3 separate regions of the Homo sapiens genome follow, and regions 1 and 3 are each linked to region 2. Evidence: promoter capture Hi-C in human tissues and cell types (Jung and others, 2019). All regions are on one chromosome and are shown on one strand. Each heading gives the region's core, a stretch centred on a gene start or on the middle of the fragment in contact. The rest is flanking DNA. Distances are from core to core; before and after follow the strand shown. Region 1 overlaps EYA4 (EYA transcriptional coactivator and phosphatase 4). Region 2 holds the start of EYA4 (EYA transcriptional coactivator and phosphatase 4). Region 3 overlaps EYA4 (EYA transcriptional coactivator and phosphatase 4).

Region 1 (4,098 bases), core at 1,373-3,872, 240 kb after region 2:
AACACATTGATTACATACTGATATGATAACATGGATATATTGGGGCAATTAACATAGAAGTGATGATAATTTTACATATCTCTTTTTACTTTTTTTAACATAGCTGATAAAAAACTTTAAAATATTATATAAGATCACATTTGTGGCTCACATGGTATTTCTGTCATATAGCACTAGTATGCACTATTCTAAGAAGTTTTATGTAAAAGAGAAAATGGAAGCAAATAGTATCTAGATGGAAATTCCAGGTCAGAGGGAAGGACTTTTTAACTTCTCAGTGACCCCAAGAAATGGGAGAGGTGGAAGGGAAAATGGGAGAGGTGGAAGGGAAGATGGGAGAGGTGGAAGGGAAGATGGGAGAGGTGGAAGGGAAGATGAGAGAGGTGGAAGGGAAGATGAGAGAGGGTTTGACTAATGAAGCATGACTTCCTAGGAGGTGGGGCTGGGAGTCAGGTTTGCAGGTGGAGGGATGGAATTGATCCAGAAGAAGACATCTCATTCTCTGAACTGTGACAAAAAAGGAGGTGAGGACATATCTAAATGGAGATAAATATGTAAGTGAAGGTATAGACAGGAAGTTGAAGGCGTATGGTGTAGAAAAGACATTCAAGTTTAATAGATCACATAGATTACAACTAGTAGGAGTTTGTGTAAACTACAAAAGTTCTGACTGACTTGTGTGTGCTTGGGATTATAAATCTCTTTTTTGCCATCAGGAGGTTTCTATTGTATAGGAATTTGTTAAGATAATTAATAATGAAGACTCATACTTGATCTAAAAATGAAGTGCTATTCTTGACCTAAGTCATGTTATCTATAGGAGAGTTCGATACCATGCAGAGTCCCTCCACACCCATCAAAGATCTTGATGAGAGAACCTGTAGGAGTTCTGGGTCAAAGTCCAGAGGAAGAGGCCGGAAAAATAATCCCTCCCCGCCTCCTGATAGTGACCTGGAGGTATGCCTACTCATTCTTAAAGATTGTAGTGTGATGCTTTATTTTACCGAATGATACATTCTCTATCTTACAGTTCCATTATGTTTCAAATTTAAAAATCAAGATATATCATGAATTGAATGGAACTACTTTGTGATAGGCATTTTACAACTCTGAAGTTTGAGATTCCATCCATTATAATATTAAAATTAAGAACAAATAACAGTATAAAAATGATCTTGATTTACAGATTATTGGCCTGAGATAATTGCAAGTTTTGATCTAAATTGGCACCGACAAATTTTAAAACTATAGCCATTGTTTGTGGGATACTTTTCTATGTAGCACTGTATTCGATAGCACTAAAGTAATGGAAGATGTCCAAATGGGTCATTAAGTTTAAAAAGATGAAAGTAATTTGTATAGAAAGAAAAATTCATCTTCTAAAAATAGGACAAGTTTCAATCACTTAATAGTATGTGTTAAAATCTGAAAATTTCATTATATGTCACTTTCTATTTATGAGTTCTTTTGAGATATATCTGTACTAAGCAGGGTTGATTTTTATATACAACATCAGTAGAAACTATTCTTAACCATAATATGTTACTTCTTACATACCACATACTTCGGTTAAGAAAAAAATTGAACTTCCAGATTTAGTAAAATCAAGTGACAGACGTTGTGATTCTTTATAAGAGATAACTTCCTTTTCTTGAACAACAGCAACAAGTTCACATTGCCTCAAGAACTTGACAGATGATATAAATGAGTGACCGGGCTGAGTTGCCCAGCAGACTGTGAGGAGCTCAGAGTGCAGGCCCATTCTGAGGGACCTGCCTGTCACTGCCATGTAGGAATGGCAGCCAGCCTGGCCACAACTTCTAGTTGCTGTGCTACAGTCAAAACCCTGAAGTTTGTGGGCAATTGCCTAGTTCTCAAATGTTAATTCATAATTTGAAATCCTTCAAAACTCCAGGGAGGCCAACATATCTGCTGGCCTAATGTGACCCCAGGATCTATACTTGACAATTCTGTTTAGCGGTTACTCATTGATTCTTTTAAATATTTCTTTAAAATCTAATTCTTTGCAGAAATTGTAAAAGTTTATGAATCCCTAAGGTATAAAACTTTAAAATATGTAGAGTTTCAAGCATGCTTCTATCATAAAGTCTGAATGTATCTCTTTTTGGTGTTAACTACGAGTAAATGTATGGATTAATTTATTCAAGCGAGGACATCTGACTCTTAAGCTTATAATTTGTATAATTCCTGCTCCTCAGGCTTTATAGGAGTTAGATTTGGCAAATTTGAAAAACAAAAAAATGAATAGTATTATTTTCTATTAAATGATATCAAGATGATCTCTAGGAAGGGAGACATTTTCTGCTTGTAAAGAGATTTCTGTTTCCTTGGACTTTTTAATTTTCTGATATTTATTTTTTGTCTTCAGCGTGTGTTTGTCTGGGATTTGGATGAAACCATCATTGTTTTTCACTCACTGCTCACCGGGTCTTATGCACAGAAGTATGGCAAGGTAAGAAATCAAGAAATGTTACTCCAAGAAATCTTGTTAAATTTTTTGTGTTTGTTTAAAATCAAGGGCTATTTAAAAATTCTTTTAAGTGTTTTTTTATTGCAGTCTGTGAAATCTTCTCTTAATTATCTATTTCTAGTGTCTTATAGTTCTTTAATATGAACTGGCAAATTTAACAAAGCTAATTATAAATTGAATTCCTTGCTATTTCTTCAAAAGGACTGAGTTTTCTACATCAAGACCAAGCTTCTTAGTCTCACATAATTATTTTAGAAAAAAAATTGTAAATCGAAATGGACTTCAAAACATTATAAAATCATATATTATCCCCAATAAAAGAGCTTTAAGAAATTGTTTAAATTAATTTGTTGCAATTTTATAGCAATAGCGAGTAATCTTTCGTCTGACAGATCTTTTGGATTTATGAATGAGTGTTTTTTCTGTGACTTGAGTACACATATGAACAGCAACCGAGGTAACACCCCCTCCCATACACAAAGTCAGCAATAGATGGTCTCATGCCTCACCTGCCTTTCTCTCTTGCTATTGTTTTTATTTTCTCTTTTATTTATTTATTTCATTGTTATTATTATTATTATTATTATTATTATTATTATTATTATTTTGAGACAAAGTCTCACTCTGTCCCCCAGGCTAGAGTGCAGTGACATGATCTTGGCTCACTGCAACCTCTGCTTCCCGTGCTCAAATGATCCACCTGCCTCAGCCTCTCGAGTAGCTGGGATCACAGGTGCCCGCCACCATGCCTGGCTAATTTTTGTATTTTTAGTAGAGACGGGGTTTCACCATGTTGGCCAGGCTGGTCTCGAACTCCTGACCTCAAGTGATCTGCCTGCCCCTCGGCCTCCAAAGTGCTGGGATTACAGGCGTGAGCCACCACACCCAGCAGTTATTTTTATAGTTAGCTTCTTATAACATCATTATTACAAACCTCTGTGAGTGCTTCTCCGAAGACTGATGCAACTCTGAAAGGCTTTTTGGCTAGAAACACAGCTGTTTAGGCAATAACTGTTTAAGTCTTAGACTCTGTAGGGCTCATAATCAAACTAAAGCCAACTCAGAACATGTTGGCTTACTGTCAGTTACTATACTCAAAGTTGTATCTTTGGTTCCTTTACATATCACGCTTACAGAAATGTCTTCCTATGTCTTCATAGCATTCCATTATTTTATAATATCTCATGCTCATGCAGTTTTTAGCTTTGTCTATATTAAGCTATATTAAGCTTTGTCTTCTGACAAGTAATGATAAAATTGCGTTGAAGTCTAGTCTTCCTAAATTACACTTTGGGTGAATCTGCATTGTCATTTGGTTTTAGTATAGGTAATGAGGTAATGGATATTTCTAAACAGATGTGAAGGTAATAATTTTGTTTAACAACCATTTACAAGAAGTGTTAGCCCCTTTATCACAAAAGTAAAGTAAATTATACAGAAATTTGGAGTACACACTCAATATCCTACTACTGATTAAGTGTGCAATATAAAAAGTTTCCAGACTATAATCTGAAGAATTTATTCTAAGTAGTATTGGCTTATCAGAAGTACACAGTAAATCCTGTTGAGCTGATTGCAATATTTTTGTGCAGCTAAGTTTCATATTA
Region 2 (3,906 bases), core at 1,227-3,726:
CAAATGTGTACTGAAAATTGACGTTTTATCTGACACCTAGTGGTGTCCATGTTAATATATGTATATTTAAGACAACTATTAGAAGGTAGTAATATGAAGTCAAATAACTAATATATTATCCTGGATTTTAAAAATAATTTCTGTACATGTATTCTTATCTAGATGTACAAAAAACTATGCAGGAGCAAAGTGACCTTGAAAGCAAGGTCAGTGTAACTGAAAAATCTGACTTTAGAAGGGTACAAAGAAACATGCTAAGAAAACCCACCCTATATTTATGTTAACAATATGCTAAAGTATGAATTTTTATTTTATTCAAATCATACATCTCCCACCTTTATTTGTAGGTGAAACTAGCACATAATGTTTTATGCCAAAATGAAATTCAAAATGTTGTTGCCTTTTGAGGACAGTATTAAATTCATCATTGTACTTAATCCTTACATGATATTTGCTATAGCCACAGAACATTCTTAGACACTATGATTCACAAAACATTTAAATTGCATATTTGGCTTGTAATATATTACATATTTAAAAGAATTACTATTTTTCTGAATACCATTAATACTAATAATAGCATCACAGTGACTAAGAGTGGACTTAAATAAAGGCTGGCTTGAAACTCAGGTCTGCCATTTATTAGCAAGCTTCTAAAAATTCTGAGCCCTTAGTTTTCTCACATGTGAAATGGAGAAAATAAATCTGCAAAATTAATTAAATCTGTCCATTCATATTTTTCTCTCCAGTGTATATTAACTGGCATTCCTCGTTAGGCCAGAATGTGCTCTCAACCATGCTCCAAATCCGCTTTGTGCCAACCCCACTGCCAGAACCCTTTCTACCTTGAGAACCAGAAAAGGAAACATTATGCCTGGCAATGCCTACACCCTCCAAAATAAATCTGCAGGAAAGAACACCCAGTAAGTGATGAGAGCAGCAACGACTGCCTTTATCATTTTAAATTTACAACACCACCTTTTCTAGAGCCTCTTAAGCATTGTAGATAATTCCCCACTCATTAAAAAATAAATTGTAACCATAAGTATTCAGGGTTGATACTGCTTTTGAATTAGACAGTGCTCATATCAGTTGCATAAGACCAACCTAAAGTAGAGGATGAAATCTTTTTTCTGAACCTTTTTCAGAACGTAACTTAGTGAATATATTAAAACTAAACTTTCTTTGAATGGGAGTAATTTCTACGGATTAATCTGTAATCTCTTAGACCACACCTAAGGTAATGTAGAGGTTGTTGTATCATAGGCTTTGTGATTAGAGACCACTGGATTTGTCTTTGGAAAAGTCACTCATGATTCTTTGGGCTTTGGTTTCCTCATCTTTTATACCGGCTTAATAATGACCACCGTAGAGTTGTCATGGAAGTTAAATGAACTCATGTACCATAAGTGACCAATACAATGATTGACACTCAGTGATTTATCAATAAATTAAAACATTTATTATCAATATGACAGAGAAGGTGCCGCTAAAATAGACAATAGGTTTTTGGAAGAGGTGATTAAATGGATGCAAAATTTATGGATTGTTTATTCCGTCTACCTTTGCTGTGTCCCCTGGTTGTGGCATACACACGTGTGGGTATAAAATCGTAAATCCTATGTAGTCGCGTAGTGCATGCGCAGAAGGCTTAGACACGAAATGTCATTTCAGCAATGTGCCTAGAGAAGCTCTGACGCCGCCTTGGAAGTAAGTCGTTGCTGCCTGACCTTTGGGCGTCTGGGACGGATGCCTATACCTGCACCCAGCAGCACTGGAAGGGGCCCAGGCCCTTCGCAGCACAGCCTATCCCCAGACCGCTTAGTCCTTCATAACATATATCTCCACGGAAAAGGGTATTTCCTCCCGTCAGAAAAAGCGCCCCAGTCTGGTCTGGGTTGGTTTTTATTTCACGTTGTTGCAAGTAGGCGAAGTCCCTTCTGTCTCCTCCCTTGGGGTAAGTGGAAAGGAGTCCGGCAGGGGGCCCGCAGTGGCCTGCACAGGGGAACTGGGTAGCGAGAGAGTTCCAGGCAATTCCGGGGGCTGCCCCACAGAAGCAGGTGGGGATCGACAGTGGCTCTCCGGCCCAGGGAGGAGAGCGCGGTCGCGGGTCCCTCCCCTCAGCCTGGAGGCTGCAGCCGCTCGAGTCGGCCCGGGTGGGGGCGGGGTGGGGGCGGCGCGGAGGGCACGGAGATTACGGCGGCGCCACCCGGGACATCCAGGGCCCCGAGGCCCTGGGCGGTCCCCACGCGAGATCGCAAACCATGACAATAGGCAGTCACCCGAGGTCAAATAAAAACGGAGTGGGTCCCCCGCGCGCCGCCGCCCCCCGCGTCCCTGGCGGCCTCCCCCGAGGCCCCCGGCGGCCTCACGAGCCCGCAGTAGCCGGTGGCGACGTCGCCCCCGCCCCACCTCCCTGCGCAAGTGCGAGGCTGCCGGCAGCGCGGCGCACGCTCCGGCCGTTCCCGGCTTCCGCGCAAAACTTCCATCCTGTCCACGTGAAGTTGTCGCTGCCTTAGAGAGGGGGAAAGAGCTGCGGGAAAAGCCGGGGAGTGACGACTGCGGCGGCTGGGCGCGCTCTCTCATTTTCTTTTCTTCTCCTTTCCCCCCTGTCGCAGTCCGGAGTTTTGGCTCCTCTCCTTTCCTCCTCCCCCTCGGAGCCGGCTTCTCCCTCCGCCCCGCTTCTCCCCCGCTTGTGTACGCTATTTGTTGTGGGGTGGCCGAAGGGGATGTCCTGTTTTCACCAGAGGCACAGCGCGAAGGGGAAACTTCGACACTGGAAGGAACGAGAATAAATACTTAATTACGGACGCACTGAACCGCGGCTGGGACAGACACTTCGGGAACCCGAGGCGGACCGGGCGACGAGGTGAGTGACCCCTTCTTCCAACCCCCGCCCCAGGGCTCCCGGGGGAGCCTGAGTTGAGAGAACCCCCAAACTTTCCGGGAAAGTGCGCGAGGCTCCGCCGGGGACGCCGAGCGCTGGGTACTGAGGACGCGCAGCTGGACGGTGCGTGGGCGCCTGCGTCCCCGGGGGGCGCTTGGAGGCCGGGTGCCCCACGCCTGAGGGCCCGGGCCGCTCGGACCGCAGCGGTGCTCTCTGCCCTAGAAGACGTCCCCAAGCCCCAAGGGTCCCTTCCGAGCCTGCCTGTCCCTTCCGGGGTCGGCGCGGAGCCTGCGCGTAACGGAGTTCATCCAGCAGTCCAGCGCGCGGCTTCTACCTGCACCCCGCCTCCACCTGGCAGAGGCGCGAGCATCGGGGTCTCCCCCACATCTTTCTTATGACGTGTATTACTTTCTGATGACCCCCTAGATGGTCCAGGCGCGAGGATGCTGACCCAGAGTCCTTCGGAGGGTCACAGGCGCCTGGGCTTTCCCGGTGCCGGGTGCGTGTGTACTTTAAAGGCTCGCGTTCTAATCTCCAGGCACTGATCGGGCTTTTCAACTGCGGCGATCCCACTTTAATAGTTTTTATGTGGCGTGGACTGAATGTCTCCTGCAGTTTGCCAGGGTCGGTGAAATTAGAGGCGCCTTGTCAGAGCAGTCGCGTTCATTGGCTCGAGTAGCGGGTGCCATGGAAGGCTTATAACTTCTCCAAAGGAAGGGACCTGGCTGGGTAGAGCAGGTTTTTCTCTCCTTCCAAGCCTGCTGGGTCTGGGGAGGCAGTGGAACTTGAAATGGCTCGGATTTTTAGCGTGGTGAAGCGAGGTTTGGAAGTAGACGTGTGTGTGCTTGTTTTATTCTGCGCCGCACAGCAACCCGAACTTTCGTTTGGTAGCACTTGAAAGAGTTTTCTCCCTTTGTTTGCGAGATTCTGAACAGCTCGGAGCGATTAGGGAATTTGCGGACCGAGTCCGGTGGCAGAGCTGGGGCGAAAGCAGAGAGCGCAATTTAATTTTTGTCATC
Region 3 (3,732 bases), core at 47-2,546, 140 kb after region 2:
TAAATGCTGCTAACTAGAAACCAGGATAATCTAGGGCAGCCCATTAAACCCTGTATCAGTCGGTTATCAATTTTTAAAAAAATTAATGTGATAAGGGCCAGTCAATTGAGATGCATTAAATAAGAACATGACAGCTATTCCTGGAATAAAGCTGGAATAATTATTTAAAATACTTTTAAATTACATTATTTAATTTAAAATTCAAATATGGATAACTTGTAAGTATTAGAAAATATGAAAAATGTCACATAGCCATGGACATTTCAAGAAGTCTTTTATTTTCGCTAAATTAGAAGCCAAAGGTAACTAAAGTTAGATACCATTCTGCTTAATCAGGCAATAATTTACAACAATTTTATTCAACCCAGTCATAAAATTCATTTCATAAAGTATGCATTCATATAAGACTCTAGGCATTGATATACTACAGTTTTTTGAAATAAATATCACTTATTCAGTCAGATTCACATCTTAGAGTATTCACATTAGAAATGCCAACAAAGCCGACAAGTCTAAATTGTTGTTCACAGTAATTCTGTATCGTTTTCTATGTTTACAAAGAGTTTGGCATGCAATAATCTGTAATATAATCTCCATTTTTGGAAAAAAATATTTTTCTATCTGCTTATCCATGTTTTCCTTAAGCAATAGTGCATTTAATCTCATTTACATTATATTTTATATTTTCTACACAGTTCAGTGAAGAAGTAGTCTTACCATCCATAAGAATATATATTAATAAATTATTTATTACATAAACTTTCATTTGTGAAATTTTAATCTCGAATTTATAGTTGCTGAATCCACCTTTTGTTTTCAGTGTATAGTATGTCCTAAGACTCAATTATTAATGCTCATTTCAAAACAAAATGAAGTTCCAAAAGAGATCTTTTGAAAATGTCTTCTTACATTATTCTATTCTTTACATTTTTTATTCCCATTAATGTTTCACGATTTGTAATCAGAACTATTCACTAGAAGATAATTGGGATAATTGAGCCCAGCTATTTTGGAAGATGCTAGATATAATAAAAGAACCTTGCTCTTATTTGCAAACTTTTTTTATGAGTTAATTCTCCTCAAAAGATTGTGAGCTTCTCAAAGCACCTAGTGGTTTGGAAACATTAAAAAAATTAAGATTGATTTTTATATATGAATGTAATAGTCATAATTCCAAAGAGTCCAGAAATTATGGTATTTTCTACATATATTTTCCAGATATTGAAAGTATTAATTATTCTCAATACCAAATCACACATTCTTTATTTTAAAGTATACTTTATGTTACTTACGTAAATACAACCTAAAAAGCTTGAGGGGTGAATAGTATTGTGAAATAAGAGATGCATAGTGTTGTGTAATAAGAGAAATGACATTTAAAAATAATTGTGTGACTAATGTAATAATATTGACCAGTCCTCTCTACTCCTTTATTCTGCTTTATTTTCATCTCAGCACTTAACCACTGCTGGCATTGTATTGTTCATTTACCAGTTTACTTATTTCTTGTATGTCTCCTCCACTAGAGGAGGAGGTGTTTGTTGGGCAGACAGGTGTTTGTTGGTCTAGGTGAGTGCTGTTCAGTAGAAAAATGATACAAATCCTATGCGTATTTTAAATTTTCTAGTAGTCACACTTGAAAAGTAAGAATCAACAGGAGAAATTATTTTATTTAACACAGTATACCCAAAATATCATTTTACTCTCAATATCAAAAATACTAAGATATTCTACTTCCTCTTTTTCATAGTAAGACTTTGAAATCTGGTGTGCTTTTTACACTAACAGCACATCTCCGTTCAATTCAGCCACATTTCAAGCTCTAAATAGCCACGTGTGGTTAGTGGCTCCTGTGTCAAACTGCTTACGTCTAGTTCATCTCTGTGGCTGGAACACTGCCTCGGATATCTCAGGCATTCAGTAAAGCCTTGCTGAATGAGCAAATCTTGATATTTTGGACAGAAAAAGAAACAACGCAGAAGTTGTTTTTCACATTAGTTTTTTTTTTTTTTTTTTTTTGGCTGTTTTTGGGGTGGTGGCGGAGGTGGATGCTAGAGATATCTGGATAATTTTTTCAAAACTACTATTTATTTTGCTTACATGGAGTTTAAATGTTACTAGTGCTTGGTAAAAACTGGTTACTTCAGTAGTCTAGTTTAAAGGATTCCTTTAATGACTGATGTATTATAAAAGTAACTAGTAGGTTCTTCTTTGAAAATTGTTCCACAGAACTTTAATTTCCACTCTTAGTTTTAAATGGGAGATATTAGTCAAGGGTACAAAGTTTTACTTATGCAAGGTGGGTCGTTCCCAGAAATCCACTGTACAGAACAGTGCCTATAGCAACAATATAGGCACTAATATTGTATACTTTAAAATTCACTAAGAGAGTAGATTTATATTATGTTCACACACACACACACACACAATTTGGGAGGAAATTTTTGGAAGTGATGGATATGTTCACAGCATAGATTACAGTGGTAGTTTCACAGGTGCATTCTTATCTCAAACTCATCAAGTTGTATACATTAAATAGGTGTACCTTTTTGTATATCAATCATACCTCAATAAAGTGAGATTTTAAAAAGAAAGGAAAGTAAACTAATGAACACAACTGGCAAATGTAGCATAGGAGAGAATGAAAGGCTTGATGTGTGGCCTTAAGTTGTAATTCCAGCCTTGCTAGTGTTAGCTGTGGGATATTAGGCAAGTTGTTGAACCTCTTTGCACATTAGTTTTCTAGTTCATAAGAGGAGGATTTTATTAATCATACCTGTCTACATGCATTAAATGAGATTATATATATACATAGTCTAGCAGAGTGAGTGGAAAAGAATATTTGCTTAATAAATGGCAGTAATTATTATTGTTATGTAATTGAAGTCAAATTTTAAATATTAAGACGTTTTGATCTTCATTTTGAACATTTTTAATTCATATGTTTATGAATTTTAGGTTCTTCATAGGTTCTGGTTAAAATGCCTTCATAGATCTGGAGTTGAAATTTGCTACATAACTTGCTTTCAGGTTGTTTCTGCTTCTCAGTGTTACTATATGGGAACTGGGAAGAAAATTGTATATATCTAAGCACTGTGCCTGGCATGTGGAAAACACTCAAAAATTTTAGCTGTTATTCACCCATTCCTTCATCTCAAAAATTTAGAATTTTGATATTTATGTTTTCATTGAATACTAATAGTTGCTTTTCTTAAAATAGTTAAATATTTAACTCTTTTTCATGGTGCTTGGAATTTTCCTGTATTTTTATAATTTCTCTGAAGAGATATTGCATAGGTTAAAGTTCACTTTATTTGCAGCAAGTTGCATTCATTTACGCTATTCATCCTTTCTGTCTTGGTGTGTGTGTGTGTGTGTGTGTGTGTGTGTGTGTGTATTTCTATGGAAAAATTTTCAACATTTATTTTTTTATTTATTGGCCCACCCCCTTGTGTGTCTTGTGAAAACTAGGATTTGAATTTAACTTTTTGGCATGAAATTCTGACTCATTTCTTGACCTGCTTGTTTTCCACTTCATTCAAAACACATTCAGAAGTAAGCCTGGGGTGATGGTGCATACCTGTAGACCCAGTTACGTGGAAGGCTGAGACAGGAGGATGGCTTACACTAGGGAGTTTGAGACTGTAGTGCACCATGATTGCACCTATGAATAGCCACTGCACTCCTGCCTAAATGATAGTCATTGAAGGTTCTATATGTTTTATAAGAATA

The links. The method cuts DNA at HindIII sites, captures the fragments that hold promoters and counts their contacts. A contact is called where the count stands out against the background at its distance.
Region 1: a fragment that was not itself captured here is called in contact with the fragment with the promoter of EYA4 in region 2 in 4 of the 25 tissues and cell types used here (H1 embryonic stem cells, dorsolateral prefrontal cortex, liver and 1 more).
Region 3: a fragment that was not itself captured here is called in contact with the fragment with the promoter of EYA4 in region 2 in 1 of the 25 tissues and cell types used here (aorta).

What each region holds. Positions count from the first base shown.
Region 1 is chr6:133,480,643-133,484,740 of GRCh38, forward strand. It overlaps EYA4 (EYA transcriptional coactivator and phosphatase 4), which reads left to right. Exons shown (of 20, transcript NM_004100.5): 12 at 821-957; 13 at 2,390-2,473. Among named protein-coding and RNA genes, the nearest start is that of EYA4-AS2, 26 kb to the left of the region's middle. RefSeq lists a silencer at 799-972. The HindIII fragment of the contact is 3,772 bases long and covers 737-4,098 here.
Region 2 is chr6:133,238,881-133,242,786 of GRCh38, forward strand. It overlaps EYA4 (EYA transcriptional coactivator and phosphatase 4), which reads left to right and starts at 2,477. Exons shown (of 20, transcript NM_004100.5): 1 at 2,477-2,869. LOC124901231 (serine/arginine repetitive matrix protein 1-like) reads right to left here. Exons shown (of 3, transcript XM_047419612.1): 2 at 3,339-3,531; 3 at 1,440-2,776. The coding sequence ends at 1,906. RefSeq lists enhancers at 2,820-3,714, 3,715-3,906. The HindIII fragment of the contact is 6,618 bases long and covers 1-3,906 here.
Region 3 is chr6:133,375,567-133,379,298 of GRCh38, forward strand. The region is part of intron 2 of EYA4 (EYA transcriptional coactivator and phosphatase 4); the gene reads left to right. Among named protein-coding and RNA genes, the nearest start is that of EYA4-AS2, 79 kb to the right of the region's middle. The HindIII fragment of the contact is 3,623 bases long and covers 1-3,108 here.